Regions from separate parts of the Homo sapiens genome. Here all the other regions are linked to region 1. Evidence: promoter capture Hi-C in 16 types of primary human blood cells and fetal thymus (Javierre and others, 2016). All regions are on one chromosome and are shown on one strand. The core of a region is centred on a gene start or on the middle of the fragment in contact, and the rest is flanking DNA. Distances in the headings are between cores, read along the strand shown.

Region 1 (3,019 bases), core at 366-2,865:
AGATAATAAATTTTATAGTTGAAATATATAAGCAGTTCTTCTGACTTTAAAATATGATCCTTCCCACCCCCATATATCAAGTTGCATGTTTTTGCTTGCTGCCTTTTAAAAAGTAGAAATAATCCTCGGTCAAATGCTGCACATGAATTCACATTAAAGTGTCTGCACTCTCCTGCTGATAAAGACCCAAATGTGGCAGAAATGGTACAGAAGAGGAGGCAGCTTGGGATTTGGCAGTCTTGTGAAGATTCAGCCATGGCTATAAACAAGGGTATGTGGAATCCAATGGGAGCCTTCTTAACTACCACATCCCAAAGAAGTAACAGAGAGCTCAAGCCCTTCAGCCCATTTCACAGATGGAGATGCTGAGGCCAAGGCTATTAGACACGTCCACTATGCTACGTTAGATCGGTGACAAAGCTGATTCTCCTGACTTCCAGTCTAGTGAGCTTTCTATCATCCAGTCCTGTCCCTATGTGATCAGCTGCATAAATTCTGAGTAAAACAACTGACTATATTGTTCAATATCCACTGTAACATGCAACTTGCTCATCAGAAAGTTAAGGCTAACTTTTTCCCCAACAGGAAAGTCAGAAACAAATCATTTTTAGTAATAATGAAGCTCTGTTAGAAGTACCACTCACCTTAAAAATATGTTTAGGAATTATTAATATACTCTCAGCATTCTGATTTTCCTGGCTTTCTGAAGCTAAGATGTTGCAGGAGAGCCTTCGTGGCTTTGATCACAGGCAATCAAAGAGGACTTTGTGTAGCTTCCAGGGACACGCTGTTGCTGGAAAAGTCGGAGCTCTGCTATGCAAAAGAAACTGCTACAGAAATCCCCTTCATTCTTAACTCCAGATCGAATTAGGATCAGAAGGCTCTTGTTCGCTGCCCAGGAGTCTGTGGTTTTAATTTTCTTATCTGCATTTTTCTTTCCTGCCCGTTCCAGGTAGCTGTCACAAAAAATATGAAAAGGGTGTTAATTTGTTGATCGTTCTTTGCTGCTTCTCACTTTCATGTTTACAGCAAGGAGAAGAGCAATTGTTTCTACCAGTAGCTTTAGTATTTTGAGTTCTCATGTGTGTAATAACTATCTTGGTAGGCCCAGAACACACAATCTCATCCAATTTTGAAATTTGGATTTTATGCCAGATGGATTATTTCAGTACGGATTACAAATGCTTATACTATTCTGCCTAGCAGAGTTTGGGTCATAAAAATCATTAAATGTAAAACATTGCACAAAGTTGCCCAAATTGTCATGTCTCTGGCCAAATTTGTGGAAATAAAAGGAGCCATGCATTTGGGTTATTTCTACAGTTTGGAAACTTTGACTCTTATCTTCTCTTAAGCTACTCAGGAAATTTCCAGACTCTAAAATCTGAGAGGAATTGTTCAGACAGACAAAGGTGGTCCAGAATGGAGACTTTCCTGATGCCAAGGATGGCAGGACCCGTGAGTGTCCACTTCACCCCTGTGATCCTACCTCTCGTGAGGCTTTACTGATGACCTTGGCTTCCTCTTTGATGAAACTTTTGGTGGCTGAGCCTCTTGAAACTGACTTGGACAAGCTTGGACAAACAACCTTCTTTTGAATCAACAGAGTGTAACTGAAATACCGTTGGAAAATTCAAACAATACTCTGATTAATGCCAGGGAGAAACAATATGTAAATAAACCCAAGAACTTAAATGAATACTTAAGAAACATACACCTTGCTTTCACAGTGTTAGCTGGAACTCAGGAAAGGGGTGTTGGAAAAAGTGGAGGTGGCATGTCTCTTTTATTTTATTGTTTGAGATGAAACGGGATTAAGCATGTTTAAATTCTAAGGGAGAAAAAGGTTGCTGTAAATTGTGACTTTAAAAAGACTGACATTAAATCACAGAATATTTCTTCAGTGGGCTACTGAAATTTATGTCTGTAATCACTACTCATGCTTTCTATTCTTTTTTCTTTGAGATGGAGTCATGCTCTGTCGCCAGGCTGAAGTGCAGTGGTGCAATCTCTGCTCACTGCCAGCTCTGCCTCCCAGGTTCAAGCGATTCTCCTGCCTCAGCCTCCCGAGTAGCTGGAACTACAGGCACGTGCCACCACGCCCAGCTAATTTTTGTATTTTTAGTAGAGACGGGGTTTCACCATATTGGCCAGGATGGTCTCGATCTCCTGACCTCGTGATCCACCTGCCTCAGCCTACCAAAGTGCTGGGATTATAGGTGTGAGCCACCCGGCCTGGCCCATGCTTTCTATTCTTTCTTCAACAACTGATACTATCTTTCTTCAACCAACTGATACTTTCTGCCTTCGCCTCTTCTCAGGGTCTGCCTTGTTTACCTTAACCCCTGCAGGAAGCCAGATCACAATTGGAGATTTCCTTCCTGATCATGTAAAGAGAACACAACAAGGATTTGGGAGATTAATCTGATGTGTAAGAGCTAGACATATCCTACTCAAAAGGATGCTCTTACTCCCTAGCCAGGACCATGCATAAATGGCATGCCCATATTGCTCTGAGACTTTCTTTTCCCTTATCTTCCCATGGCTGTGCAGACATCAGTTGAGACTATATTCTTTCTTAGTACTCTAATACATTCAGGCAGGTTACAATCAAGTCTTGCAGTCCTGGGAGCTCTTTTGTCTATTTAAGGTAACTGTGATTCTCTACTTTTATTTATTATTTGTTTGGCTCATAGTTTAGCTCTCAGGGAACAATTTTATTTTCATTATTCCTAAGTTCTTGGGAGACACCTTATGGTATCCAACAAAGACTAACAACACCATGCAGCAGTGCAAATTCACTCTAAGTAAACCGATGAAAAATAGACCTTTAATCTGATTGAGGTGTAGAAAATGGCTACCTAAAAGTGATACTTTTTCCTTTTGATTATTTTGTATGGCAGTACCTTGAGTAGGGAAAAAATGTTTTCTTTTTCTCTGTGTGTAAAAATCACCAAAAGTTACTTTGAACATCAAAAGAACACCACTTTAAATTGCATTTCTGGTTGTTCCCTTCAAT
Region 2 (3,393 bases), core at 642-3,141, 240 kb after region 1:
GCCTTCTCCCAGTGGAGTCATTGAGATAGCACGTAATTTTTCCAGGAATGATATATGGCAATATTCACAAAGTATTGCCAACAAGGGAAGCTCACTCAAACTTTGGTGGCCAAGGTTTGACCAAGTGTTTTCACTGAGGATTACACTGGCATGGCTGACCACCCCCATGCTTGACCTCAGCTCTTCAGCCCCTCCAGAGGTCAAGCTGATACCACAGCCCAAAGTCTGCTACCATTATTCACATTATTATTAACTATCTGGCATGGCCCAAAGTTTCAGGTAAATAAAAACACTCCAGGGGCTGAACAAGGGCCAAACCTTCTTCGAAATGTGAAGAGTTTGAACAATTACCCCTGCGGAGTTAATTCTTTCCACGTTACCTAAGAATGGCCAGACTACAAATATGGTGGCAGAAGACTCCCAGAACTAGAGTCACAGGAGAAACCATAGCAGCCATGTGGCATCATCTAGCCAAGGCCTAGAAGTCAGTCAGGCAGCATAACTCTGCTTCATTCTATTCATCAAGCCGATCACAAAGGCTGCCCATGTTCCGGGGATTGGTTCATAGACTCCACTTCATGATGGCAGAACTATCAAAGCATTTATGGATAGATTTTTTAAACCACCACAGATGGTGGCCAGTACTCACCCACAAAGTAACAGGAAAAGTTCTTTGTGTCTTTCCTATTAATAAGAATTATTTTTCTTTTTGCCTCAACCTAAAGAGAAAGCACCTTCAAGTAAAAAGAAATAAACACAGAGAATTCTTTAATCAAGGCAAAAATATAAAGTCTAGGCTCAAACATAAAGACTTCTCTTGGCCTTAAGGAGAAGCTTTTTTGAGCAACTTAGAGGCTGCTGCCTGCTGTGAAGGAGGTGACCACGGGACCCCAGAGCCCCCCACGAGGGCCAGAAGTCATGCTGGTCCCTTTCACCAGATTTGCCTGGAGGAACTGCATCTGTTCTTAAAACCTACTCGCTAGACTCCCTTTCTTCTTTTTTTCTGTTTTTTTTTTCCTCCTACTTCAAACCCCATATCTACAAGTTTGTATGAACACCCTTCTTAAATCCTCTTAAAGAAACAATATCTATGTAGCAAACCTGATAGATGTCTTTGAAAAATATACCTCTTTCTACATGGCACAGGCAGTGACATTTACAACCTTGTTATTTTCTCTCATGAAAAAAAAATTTTTTTTTAATTGAGACAGAGTCTCACTCTGTCACCCAGGCTGAAGTGCAGTGCCACGATCTTGGCTCACTGCAACCTCCGTCTCCTGGGTTCAAGGGATTCTCCTGCCTCAGCCTCTCATGTAGCTGGGACTACAGGCACATGCCACCATGCCCAGCCAATTTTTGTATTTTCAGTAGAGATGGGGTTTCACCATGTGGGCCAGGCTGGTCTCGAACTCCTGACCTCAGGTGATCTGCTCCCCTCAGCCTCCCAAAGTGCTGGGATTACAGGCGTGAGCCACTGCACCTGGCTTCCTCTCATGAGAAATTGATTTTTAACTTATTGCTTTCAACACTTTTTCATTTAGCCTGCCACATTAATAGCAGACTTTTAGAAATCAAATCTTCTTTTATAAATGAACCCAAATCTCTCCGAAGGCAGAAAAATTCTTGGTCTCAGAAAAAAAAAAAAAAAAAAAAAAAAAACATGGAATTGCCAATCCACTGAGCCTGTTGCCTAGCTCCAGCGTGGGTTCCAACCTCTTTCCATAAGGGGGAATTTCTGCAGGTGGTCTGTGATTCAAAGAATAAAAGCTCAACTGTTCAGGGAAACATCCTGCTCATTCACATCCAGCTCCTGACTGGAGAGCAGTAGCACAACTGTGCCAAGGAAAAACCAGTCTACAGAAATGCGTATCCAAGTCACAAAGCCAGAACGTGGTGAATCATTAGGAATCCCTTGCAGATGTCTCTCTTGCAAGGCATTTCCAAATGCAGCCACCTAACAATGAAAGGCACGACAATCTTGGCCTGAAATCCTGCTGAAATCCAGATCATCATCTTGGAGAAGAGCATTAGCCATGGTCATCATGGTTTAGAAAGTCCTCCTAGGTAGTTACTTTGCATTCCTGGGAACCTGGTCAAACTTTCTTTCAAAGTGAACAGGTGCAGAGTATGTAAAAGGGAGACTATAGAGCCAAGGGAGTTATTTTTCTAGGTTTCCGATAAATGTGGCCTTATTTGCAGCACAAAGAACACTGTCGATGGTTAAAACACAAAATGATTTTGAAGTTTAATTTAAATTTCACCCTCCTGGCTATTTGTGTTTGTATTTCACTTCACTTGAACAATAAAGTAGCTTGGATGGTTTGGGGCATGCGGTTAAGCCTTTTAATTTCCTGGCCCTCATGCACTGCTGCTCACATGGCAGGGTGGCTGCCCTTAGCACAGAAGCAGAATTTTTAAATTGTTCATTGATATCTTTGGCCTAACATCAATACAATGTTTTGTGCACACGTCCTGTTGTCATATCCATCCAAACCAAACTTTGATGACGTCTAGGTCCCTCGATACTGTAGCAACTGCTCTTACATCCTGTTAACCACCCCGTGACAACCTGTAGGCAGGAATTCCTCAAAGATATGGCCCACATCTTAAACAGAATGAAAGGGAGCACTGGAGAAATTCTAAATCCTTCCACACTTCTGAATAAATTATTTCTTTGCTGATGATAGAACTCAGCATCTCAGGAAAATATTTTCCAAACAGTAGAAAAGTTATTTGAAGTGTTCTGAGACTCCGTTTCCTTTTCCTTTTCAGTGGGCTGGGAGTCTTTTATCAACAAGAGTAGCTTCTTTGGAAGTAGATCTTTGTAATCAGGAGGCAACTGTGCCATTAATTTACCAGGGTATGAATCAGCCTAAGCATGTCCACCTTTTCTTTGCCATTTGATTGTGTGTTCTTTCATACTGTGATTCATCTCCAGACCAAGCTTCTTTGTTCTCCCTTATTTTCAAATTAGCACAGCTTAGAGCCAGGATGATGGAAGATTCAGTGCTGAGAGAAAGAAGACCCATTTCCCAAGAGTAGTATCTTCAAATGCAGACATTCACACAGTTGCTTTTTATCATTATTTGGGTCAAAAGTGCATGACATATGGAAAAACAACAGAGGACATACTATCTCTATGTTTTTTAGATGGCACCCAATTTCATCATGTAATTTTGGAGAAGAATTTATAGGTAAAAAACACTTATGGAGCTCTGGCCACCATTCTGATATAAGTGCACTACAGCAGCAAAGATTAATAAGTATTCGCTCTCACTCTTCAAGGAATTTACATTCTGGCAGGGAAAATGGAGAAGGCAGAAATATACACAAATAATAGAGTTGGGTGAAAATAAAGGGAGGAGCAAGAGGGAGGAGTCTGGGAGCAGGTGG
Region 3 (3,401 bases), core at 185-2,684, 210 kb after region 1:
CAGAATCTCTGTTTTTTGGAGAAAATGTACAATTTAAAATTGTTTTTTTTTCTTTTTTTTTTATCAGAAAGGAAAGTCATCAAGAATTAGATTTTATTTTAGGAACAAAGTAAGGTTTCATGGGAGAAAAAAACAAAGCCTTGGTGTAGAGAAGGTTTGTTCATTTTCTATAGCATTACTGAAGTGTCCGTATGCCTTGATAATCCTATCAATGTTTGGATCATCTCAGTGGGGGAAATGACTTAATTTAACTCTATTTTGGTGTCTCAGCAAAGGTAAGTTATCTATTTTGAGAGCCCTGAGTTTGCTTTAACTGGGTAGTTTTATACTACTGCATTTGTGAATGAAATCCCAAAGTTTGCCCAGCTAACTTGCCATCTCAGTTTCCCCGATTAGAAAAGGTGGGTGGCCAGCGGGTGGAGGAGGAGGTGATGGGAACTGGCCAATTGTGACAGAGCTGCCTTCAAGCCAATATCTTGTGTTCATAAATACCTAGGCAAGAGGCAGGTCAACGGCACATGCGATAGGCTTAATTAAGCTGATGGTCTGTATCTCATGTTCCCTAGTGTCTCTCTTTCAACGCTATCATGGAAGAACTGGGAATCTCACTGAAGAATCAGAAAAAAATAAAGAAAAAGTCAAGAACTAAGGGGAAATCTTCCTTCACAAGTATCCTTACTTGTCATCAGAGACGAACTCAGAGAAAAGAGACTGTGGCGTGATCCAAGGAAACGCCTGTAGGAAGAAAAAGGATGCATTCCCTACAGATTTTTGGAGAAAGGATTTCTGAGGAGTGTGTGATGTGTTTCCATATATCTATATCCATAACTCTGATTATGAATACAGATATAAGAAATACAAAAGTTTAAAAAGCTCACATAGATATGACTTGGGAAGTGACACCAGTTCTTTTAAAATAAATTTGTATGCTCAATTATTTTGCATTTTTTCTTTTTCCCCAATAAATTGTTGTGTGTGCTTTCTAAATAATAATAAAACAACAGGGTTTTTTTCCAGAACAAGTTGAGCTTGGTTTGTTCCCCATTACTTGCTCCCATTGGCAAAGGTGTGTTTGCTGTATGTCGTCAGTTGTGCAGTTTGCTATTTTGAAAATTCTTCTTATTGGTTTAGACAAACATAGTCATTTTGGGCTGAGTTTTAAAAATTACTTTTAGTTTATACCAAGTTACCTAGTTACTATGTGAACCAATTTATCTTTGTGTTCTAAAGTCTAATTTTATAAATAGTTTAAATGATACTCAGAACATTAGTGAAGTGCGCTGGAAAAGGATACCAGAAAGCAAAAATACATTCAAAAAGTAAAGGTGTTCGCCACATTCTAGGCACCATTCTAGGTTCTGGGGGTCCCATACTGAAGAAAACAGATATGGTCCCTGTATTAGTTCATTTTCATGCTGCTGACAGACATACCCAAGACTGGGTAATTTATAAAGAAAAAGAGGTTTAATGGACTCACTGTTCCATATGGCTGGGGAGGCTTCACAATCATGGCAGAAGGTGAAAGGCACATCTTACATGGTGGCAGGCAAGAGAGAATGAGAGCCAAGCAAAACAGGAAACCCCTTATAAAACCATCAGATCTCATGAGAATTATTCACTACCACAAGAATAGTATGGAGGAAACCGCCGCCATGATTCAATTATCTCCCGCCAAATTCCTCCTACAACACGTGGGAATTATGGGAGCTAAAATTCAAGATGAGATTTAGGTGGGGACACAGCCAAACCATATCAGTCCCTGTTCTCACATAATTAATTATAAAACAAAGATGAAAAACAGTATATTACTCAAAGCAGGATTAGAACTTCCTCAGAGGAAGTCCAAAACTGAAGGAGCCCTCAGAAGTATTTAACCTGGGGCTGGGTCAAGAAGGGCTTCCTGGAGAAGGGAATAGCTAACTGAAGATTTGCAGGTTCACTCAGATATTATCAGGTGAAAGGAGCCAGGCTGAGGACGCGGCATATTAGAAGGCATGGAAATAAGAGAGAATAGGGCTATTATGTTAGAGGAAAAATGAGTTTGGTGTAGCTAAAATATAAAATGCAAGTAAGTCCAATAGGCCTGATAGGTAGCAGTCACTCTGGCTGAGGGTAGAGGAAGAATTGAAGGAAAGAAGACCAGAAGGGAGACTAGAGGGAGGTCACCCAAAATATTCTTTCAGTAACTGCACCAGACCAAAAGCAGAGAGACCACCAGATGAAGGAGGTAATTTTGAAGCACAATCCGAACAGCCATGGATTCAGAAAGTGGTCTCAAAGGAAAATTCCAGGATTCAGGGAGGTGGGAGGAGAGCTTAACTGGAAAATTGAGGTGGCATTCATTGTGTTGGGAAATAATGGAAAGAAATAGGTATTAGTCAGTATTTCATACAACTGGTTGGTTTCTTCAGGATTATTCTACATCTCTAGGAAACTTAATCTAGTCCTTCAAAGTACAAAAATATTTTCAGACATGAAAGGGAAAAATAATGATCTTAAAAATGGCAATAACAATAACAGATATTGGACAAAGGTTTTGCTTGATTGTAATCAATATTCAGATTTCATATCAATCAGAATTTTTATTGACAACAAATAGAAGAAAATCGTTCATTAAAATGCATTAGAAGACTTAAATTAAACATTTATAAATTGGAGTATGATGAATCTGACCAGCTAAAGATGGTCTAGAATGATAACATATCAGAAGGAGGAAATACAAAGTTTATTCACTTCACTAAAAATTATATCCAAGGCATTCTATTTTACATTTTCTAATATTTTTCTCCCATTTTTAAATTTTTCTCTTATTTTAGAAAATATTACTCTATCTTTTCACATACTATTACAGAAATTTGTGAGAAAAGAAGTACATCAACCTCTAATATCTAAAATATATAGTATATCAATCTGGTTTATGGATATTTTAAGATCCACCAGCCTCTTTCGTCTTCACTTATACATAACTAAATTTTCATTCAATACATATAACACTTGCTATAAATAACTTCATTAAAAATATATTGAAAAACTGTAGAACAGGACTTTTTTAATGTCAACTATTAAATGTAATGCATAATCACCTTCCTTTCTCCCTGATATTTTCATTCTGAAAGTACATTTGACACATACAAATGTACCTACGTTTCTGTGTGCATCTTTGTGTTTTAGGGTGAAGAAGAGAGTAAGCTAATGAGTTCAGAGGAGAGAAGAAAGTGTAGAGTATCTGGAACCCAGTCCAGAAAAATTCCTGGTAACAACCATTAACCTTGGAGATTTTCATCCCTTTCACTAAAGAACAGTGACTCATACAGAGTTATGTAGAAATCAATGGCGAAGTTAATTAAAAACTAGATTTAACATTTCTTCCTTCAGCAATTTCTTAGTGCTAAAAGAAAAAG
Region 4 (3,143 bases), core at 541-3,040, 160 kb after region 1:
GTGGATCACGAGGTCAGGAGATCGAGACCATCCTGGACCAACATGGTGAAACCCCGTCTCTACTAAAAAAAAATACAAAAAAATAGTCAGGCGTGGTGGCAGGCGCCTGTAGTCCCAGCTGCTCAAGAAGCTGAGAAAGGAGAAAGGCTTGAACCCGGGAGGTGGAGCTTGCAGTGAGCTGAGATCTCCCCACTGCACTCCAGGCTGGGTGACAGAGTGAGATTCCGTCAGAAAAAAAAAAAAAAAGCCAGAAGGGTCATACAAAAAAAAGCTTAGGTATTGGCACAGCAGGTGGCCAGGCATGTGGGCCCCCATTTCCCTTTGCGCCTTCCTTCTTCTCAGACCCAACATTTAACAGTGACTGTGTATCCATCACACCATTCCCGCACAGCCCCACCCTCCACAGCGGAAGGAAAAGCTCCCATCGAAAGACGCAGAAGGGAAAGAAACAATAATATAGGAAGTGTTTTGTATTTATAGAGGACATAGGCAGGCAGATGAGTGAATGACTTCAGTACTCTCAGCTCTTCAAAATCATTATCAAACATTTCACATCTTCAAGCTGCTGATAGGGTAAACTCTTCCTTTCATTATAACAGGGTTTTCATATTTGGTTTGTTTCATTTAGGAAGAACCCTATGTTATGTACAGGAAATCTGATAAGCCTCTATATGGAAATGACAGATTTGAAGGATATTGCCTAGACCTGTTGAAAGAATTGTCAAACATCCTGGGTTTCATTTATGATGTTAAACTAGTTCCCGATGGCAAATATGGGGCCCAGAATGACAAAGGGGAGTGGAACGGGATGGTTAAAGAACTCATAGATCACGTAAGTAACAATATTTCTAACATATCTGAAAATATGCATAAGAGAAAGTAAGAGAGGAAAAAATGATGTCAGAAGAAATGTTTCCTTTTTTTGAATCGTAACAATTTTTTTAAGAAGCAAAGTAAAACAGCCTGGAAATGGAGTTTGCTTACTTAGAAGGGCAAGTAAAGATAAAAATTAATGATAAAAATATATGGTGCATTAGTTTGTTTTTACACTGCTATAAAGAACTTCCTGAGACTGGGAAATTTATAAAGGAGAGATTTAATTGACACAGTTCCTCATGGCTGGAGAGGCCTCAGGAAACTTACAATCATGGCAGAAGACACTTCATCACAGGGTGGCAGGTGAGAGAATGCGTGAAAGCAGGGGAGATGCTAGACACTTATAAAATCATCAGCTCTCATGAGACTCACTCATAATCACCAGATCCCAATACCCCATGATCCAGTTACTTCCACCTGGTCCCACCCTTGACACATGGGGATTATTACAATTCAAGGTGAGATTTAGGTGGGGACACAGAACCAAACCATATTATATGGATCCTTCTTTCATACTGAACATAAACTTGAGTGATTCTTAAATTAAGAATTTTACACTTTGGGAGTCTGAGGCAGGCGGATCACAAGGTCAGGAGATCGAGACCATCCTGGTTAACACAGTGAAACCCCGCCTCTACTAAAAATACAAAAAATTAGCCAGGCGTGGTGGTGGGCGCCTGTAGTCCCAGCTACTCGGTAGGCTGAGGCAGGAGAATGGCATGAACCTGGGAGGTGGATCTTGCAGTGAGCCGAGATTGCACCACTGCACTCTAGCCTGGGCGACAGAGTGAGACTCCGCCTCACAAAAAAAAAAAAAAAAAAAAAAAAAAGAATTTTAAAGTTTTCAGCTCAGAGCAAAATCTCATCATGTCAATTAATAGTACAACCAAGTTGCTCATTCCTTCTTTTTCTCACATGCCCTTTTTAAAGGCATCTTCCTGCATTTTTGTCTTTAGTTCCAGAATGATGGATATATATTTGTGTATGTATATGTGTGTTTTATACTTTCTGGTTTCTCTTTGCTGATACTGTTTCATAAACATAACTGTATAAATTGGCTTTTTTTTATTAGAACCAACCATCACAGGAGCTTCATGAATGAGAAGCATTTAGAGTTGAGAATAAGAATCAGGAGTACCCAGGAAAAGTCTAGACATTTGCAAAGAAACTAGACTAAGCTGACAATTTTGGACTTGCTTTTGCAGAGGGCTGACCTGGCAGTGGCTCCTCTTACCATCACCTACGTGCGGGAGAAAGTCATTGACTTCTCCAAACCCTTCATGACCCTAGGCATCAGCATTCTCTACCGGAAGCCCAATGGTACCAATCCAGGCGTTTTCTCCTTCCTCAACCCCCTGTCTCCAGATATTTGGATGTATGTGCTCTTAGCCTGCTTGGGAGTCAGCTGTGTACTCTTTGTGATTGCAAGGTAAGTTTGAGAATCACTGAATTCACAAGAGGTGTAGGTCAGTCTCAGATTTCTGTATGTCCCAGAGGCAGACAAAAATTAGGAACTTTAAAGTGTACTTTTAGTTTTGCCTAGTGTTCTATTCTTGGAAGGTTTCCATATAAAAGCCGTTCTGTAAATGAATGTTTTCTAATTATTTATAAAGTTACTTTTAAAAGAGAGGAAGATAATTTTTAATATTAGTTTAACTTTATCCCTATTTCAAGCAACATAAAATGGTTATTTAGCCATTTTCCTTGATTTATAACAAAAGTAATGGCTCAAATGATGTGTAAAATGTTTCCATAGGAATTGTAAAATGGTCTCAAGATATTTGACCCCTAGAATATTTGGATAAGCAAAACATAAAAAAGTCAGCAAAGAATTATCATAGCAAATAAAAAACAGTGGAGTAAAAAGATTGTGAAACCCTTAGGAATGAAGAAAAATACTTTAAAAGTTCTATTAAATTTATTTTTAAAGGCATGAGAAAGTTAAAGAGAATTCTAGAAATAATGCTGAAAGGAAAGATTGCTTACATACAGAGCCTGGAGGCATGAAACCTTTGTGCTATCATTAAGATGATTCAATTGAGGTTTTACTTTTCGAGATTTAACTCTGTATTTAACCATTTTGCTCTACACAGTTCCTTAAAGGATTTTTATACCTTTCAATAGATCATATATTCTGAATACTTTTGATGCTAAATTTGAAACAGTTATTTTATCTTTCTGTTGGCTTAAACATTTGCTGTCCCTAGATAAACCATGTAAAAAATAATTGCTTTTGTATGTCCCTACTTGTTTTCAATCTTTTTCAC
Region 5 (3,180 bases), core at 338-2,837, 190 kb after region 1:
TGTGTCCAACCAAGATCAAAGACAGGCACTTTGAAAAAAGAGGGGTTGGGGCAAGAGCTTTATGCCGAATGGGTTGGCTAAACATACATATTAAACTGGTTACAGGCGGAGCTATGAATATTTATGAAGATGATCCTGACACATGCATATTGAACAAAAATGCATGTAACATACAATCCTTGTCCACTTCGGGGTAGAGACTTAACATTTAATGGTTTTATAATTAGGTTCTATACGTCAAAATGTCTTGCAGGACACAATGGCATGCAAGGGTACACTCTCTTTAATCCAACCAGAACCAGTCTAAGGTCGGTGGTCTTCTTCTCTGGAGAAAGTTACTGAAATCAGGATCTTGTTTAATGAAAGGTATATCTGGTGGAACAGGGGCTGGAAGTCAGTGTCTAAGAGTTGGATGAGCTGTAGTTGTTTTAATATTGCTTATCTTGAGGCCAGTGCTTGTTTACCTCCTTGAGAAAAAGAAAAGCCTTGTAGCAGTTGGAGCATAGTTTATTTTTTAAGTCCAAGGCTGTGTGACTTAACCCTTGTCTGGCATGGCCTTCAGTTCTGTTTATAATTTGATATCTTATTGCCACAAATAGACTGCTCTGTCTGACCTCCCATTCCGGTATGGCTGCAAACTAAGTTCTTAAGCTTTTTCTGGGGTCCCTTTGGTTACAAAAGAGGGTCGTTCAGTCAATGGGGGCTTAGAATTTTATTTTTAGCTTACACAGTGAAATCTCTTGACATGTGAAAAGACTCATAATGATCTCACCAGAAACAAAGACATGTCATAGAATTCCTAGCTTTGCTTCTCCTTATTTAAAAGGAGCAAACAATCGGGGCCAAAGTTAATCTCAACATGTCAGCTATCTTCTTTCCAATTATATAGTGCCTTCAAAATATAGGAGTGAACTTTCCTGTCCTTTGCAAGTCAATTTGTGGATTGGGGTCTCACAACAGCCGTAACATAGTTATGACAAAGATGATAATTAAGAATACTTCTGGATGTCTTCTTCAACATTTTGGTGACCAATATCCAGATGGTTTTACTTCCAGGTTCTCCTTACCGGGATAAAATTACTATTGCTATTCTTCAACTCCAAGAAGAAGGGAAGCTGCATATGATGAAAGAGAAGTGGTGGCGTGGGAATGGCTGCCCCGAGGAAGACAACAAAGAAGCCAGTGCCCTGGGAGTGGAAAATATTGGAGGCATCTTCATTGTTCTGGCTGCCGGACTGGTCCTTTCTGTATTTGTAGCTATTGGAGAATTCATATACAAATCACGGAAGAATAATGATATTGAACAGGTGAGTCATCTCTTTCTAGGACTGGTTAGTTTATAGTTTGCATTATCTGTCTTAAGTTTGGGGGTTTTTAAGGATGTTTGCTCTTTTTCAGTCTATTGAATTAGATGCCCAGAAGAGCCATTTTTGAGTTAGAGCAGAGAGCTATTGAATCCCTGCCAGGTGCTGTGGGCACTGCAGGTCCATCATTTATTAACGACAAGGAAGGGGCTTATACACTAAATCCAATTAGCATTATTTGGAAAGACAGTGCAGAAATTCCAAACTCAGTTAATTTTTGAACTGTTGTTTGCTCGTAAGATAGAAACCCTAGATGGAAAAAGGCAAAAATAAATCCAAAATTGGAAAAGATATAAAAAGATATTTAACAGAAATGTTACCAGCCCTTAAGTATAGATTCTGAGCACATGTACTAATGCAAAACAATTTATATAAATATGTAAAAGTCATACTACGAAATTGAACACTTCTATCAAAGTAAGATTTGTAAAAGGATATATCACCTCAAATTTTTTTTTGCCAGGAATGTCATAAACAATACAAAATGAAAATGCAATGTATATGAGACTTTATTTTTCTAAATTGTGTTTGGGATTATAGGACAACTTTAGTAGTTGACCATTTTTGCCTACTACTTTTATTTCTGAAGGAAATCACACCATTTTTGAAGGAAATCAACTTACACTCTTTTGAAAAGGCTGATTGTGATTTAAGATAATTCCTTCATAACCATGCTAGAATAAACAAAATATAAAGTTTATGGTCATCATAGTGAATCAGGCTCTGCTTTGAATTTTTAAATATTGTTAGAATTTTAAGACTATGACTATTAATGACAGAGCCAGTTTAATGCTCTCCTGTCATCTTGAAATTCTAAATAATTTTTGAACAAAGTGTCCCATATTTTCATTTCGCACTGGACCCTGCAAATTATGTGGCTGGTTCTGATTAATAATCTGATAATAGATCCACTTTCTTTAAGTGGAAGCCCTCCTTAAGGGCCCAAAACTGGGGATGATTCATTATAACCTGGTTTCACATGAAAATCTTCCCCAGAATTACAAGGCAACTATGACAACAATGAACACCCCTTTCCAAAGCTCTTGTTATAAGAAGCTGTTTCTTTAATTCAAAGGGAGAATGAACTGATCTGCTTTAACTTTCAATTTGCTCTTGAGGTGTCTTGTTTTATGCAACTAATTTGGAAAATAAAAGCTTGTATATATGATGCTTTAATGTGCTTTTCATAGTTGCCAGCTTCATGTGATGTAAATTTTCATTTAAACATTCATTCTTGCTTCTGATTTATTCATTTTTCTATATTTTTTTCTCATTTCTTTTGCATGCAAGGCTTTTTGTTTCTTTTATGGACTGCAATGTAAGCAAACCCATCCAACCAACTCCACTTCTGGAACTACTTTATCTACGGATTTAGAATGTGGTAAATTAATTCGAGAGGAGAGAGGGATTCGAAAACAGTCCTCAGTTCATACTGTGTAATCAGTTTAAAAAAAAAAAAAAAGATGTGCCCAGTAGAAAATGTTTTTGCTAATTGGTGTTGTTGATATTTGTATTTGCTAAGCATAAATAGCCACAATTCTCTATTCCTTTAGGATAGCAAAACTCATGTATTCTAGACATTGAAATGAATACACTGGAAAGATACTTGCACTGTATGTTGAAGCAGGGGCATATTAGGGGTATAAAGACTTCTAGAAATGTGTATTTACAGGAATCTTCTCTGTCCCACTCATCATCTTAGTTCTATCTTCATGCATTAAAAATAAGTAACTCTTCCTTCATGAAAAAGGAGATTCAGACTTTCAACAGGGCAAAGCATGGAAACACGATGCTAATTCTATGGACTTCTTTTCAT

What was found. Contacts are between HindIII fragments. The CHiCAGO score rates a contact against its expected background, and 5 or more counts as called.
Region 2: a fragment that was not itself captured here is called in contact with the fragment with the promoter of GRIK1-AS1 in region 1 in 1 of 17 cell types (monocytes); the score reaches 5.4 in monocytes.
Region 3: a fragment that was not itself captured here is called in contact with the fragment with the promoter of GRIK1-AS1 in region 1 in 1 of 17 cell types (monocytes); the score reaches 5.2 in monocytes.
Region 4: a fragment that was not itself captured here is called in contact with the fragment with the promoter of GRIK1-AS1 in region 1 in 1 of 17 cell types (monocytes); the score reaches 5.6 in monocytes.
Region 5: a contact is called between a fragment that was not itself captured here and the fragment with the promoter of GRIK1-AS1 in region 1, in 1 of 17 cell types (monocytes). The highest score is 6.4, in monocytes.

Annotation. Positions count from the first base shown.
Region 1 is chr21:29,746,771-29,749,789 of GRCh38, reverse strand. It overlaps GRIK1-AS1 (GRIK1 antisense RNA 1), which reads right to left and starts at 1,615. Exons shown (of 5, transcript NR_027021.1): 1 at 1,490-1,615; 2 at 645-956. The region is part of intron 1 of GRIK1 (glutamate ionotropic receptor kainate type subunit 1); the gene reads left to right. The HindIII fragment of the contact is 19,094 bases long and covers 1,577-3,019 here.
Region 2 is chr21:29,509,800-29,513,192 of GRCh38, reverse strand. No RefSeq gene overlaps it. Among named protein-coding and RNA genes, the nearest start is that of BACH1-IT3, 15 kb to the right of the region's middle. The HindIII fragment of the contact is 2,110 bases long and covers 837-2,946 here.
Region 3 is chr21:29,534,551-29,537,951 of GRCh38, reverse strand. GRIK1 (glutamate ionotropic receptor kainate type subunit 1) reads left to right here. Exons shown (of 18, transcript NM_001330994.2): 17 at 68-154; 18 at 567-1,019. The coding sequence ends at 722. Among named protein-coding and RNA genes, the nearest start is that of BACH1-IT3, 40 kb to the right of the region's middle. The HindIII fragment of the contact is 6,155 bases long and covers 1-3,401 here.
Region 4 is chr21:29,586,528-29,589,670 of GRCh38, reverse strand. It overlaps GRIK1 (glutamate ionotropic receptor kainate type subunit 1), which reads left to right. Exons shown (of 18, transcript NM_001330994.2): 11 at 629-832; 12 at 2,082-2,305. Among named protein-coding and RNA genes, the nearest start is that of GRIK1-AS2, 7.9 kb to the left of the region's middle. The HindIII fragment of the contact is 3,033 bases long and covers 274-3,143 here.
Region 5 is chr21:29,553,179-29,556,358 of GRCh38, reverse strand. GRIK1 (glutamate ionotropic receptor kainate type subunit 1) reads left to right here. Exons shown (of 18, transcript NM_001330994.2): 16 at 1,057-1,307. LOC124905006 (a long non-coding RNA gene) reads right to left here and starts at 1,062. Exons shown (of 3, transcript XR_007067839.1): 1 at 1-1,062. The HindIII fragment of the contact is 1,868 bases long and covers 654-2,521 here.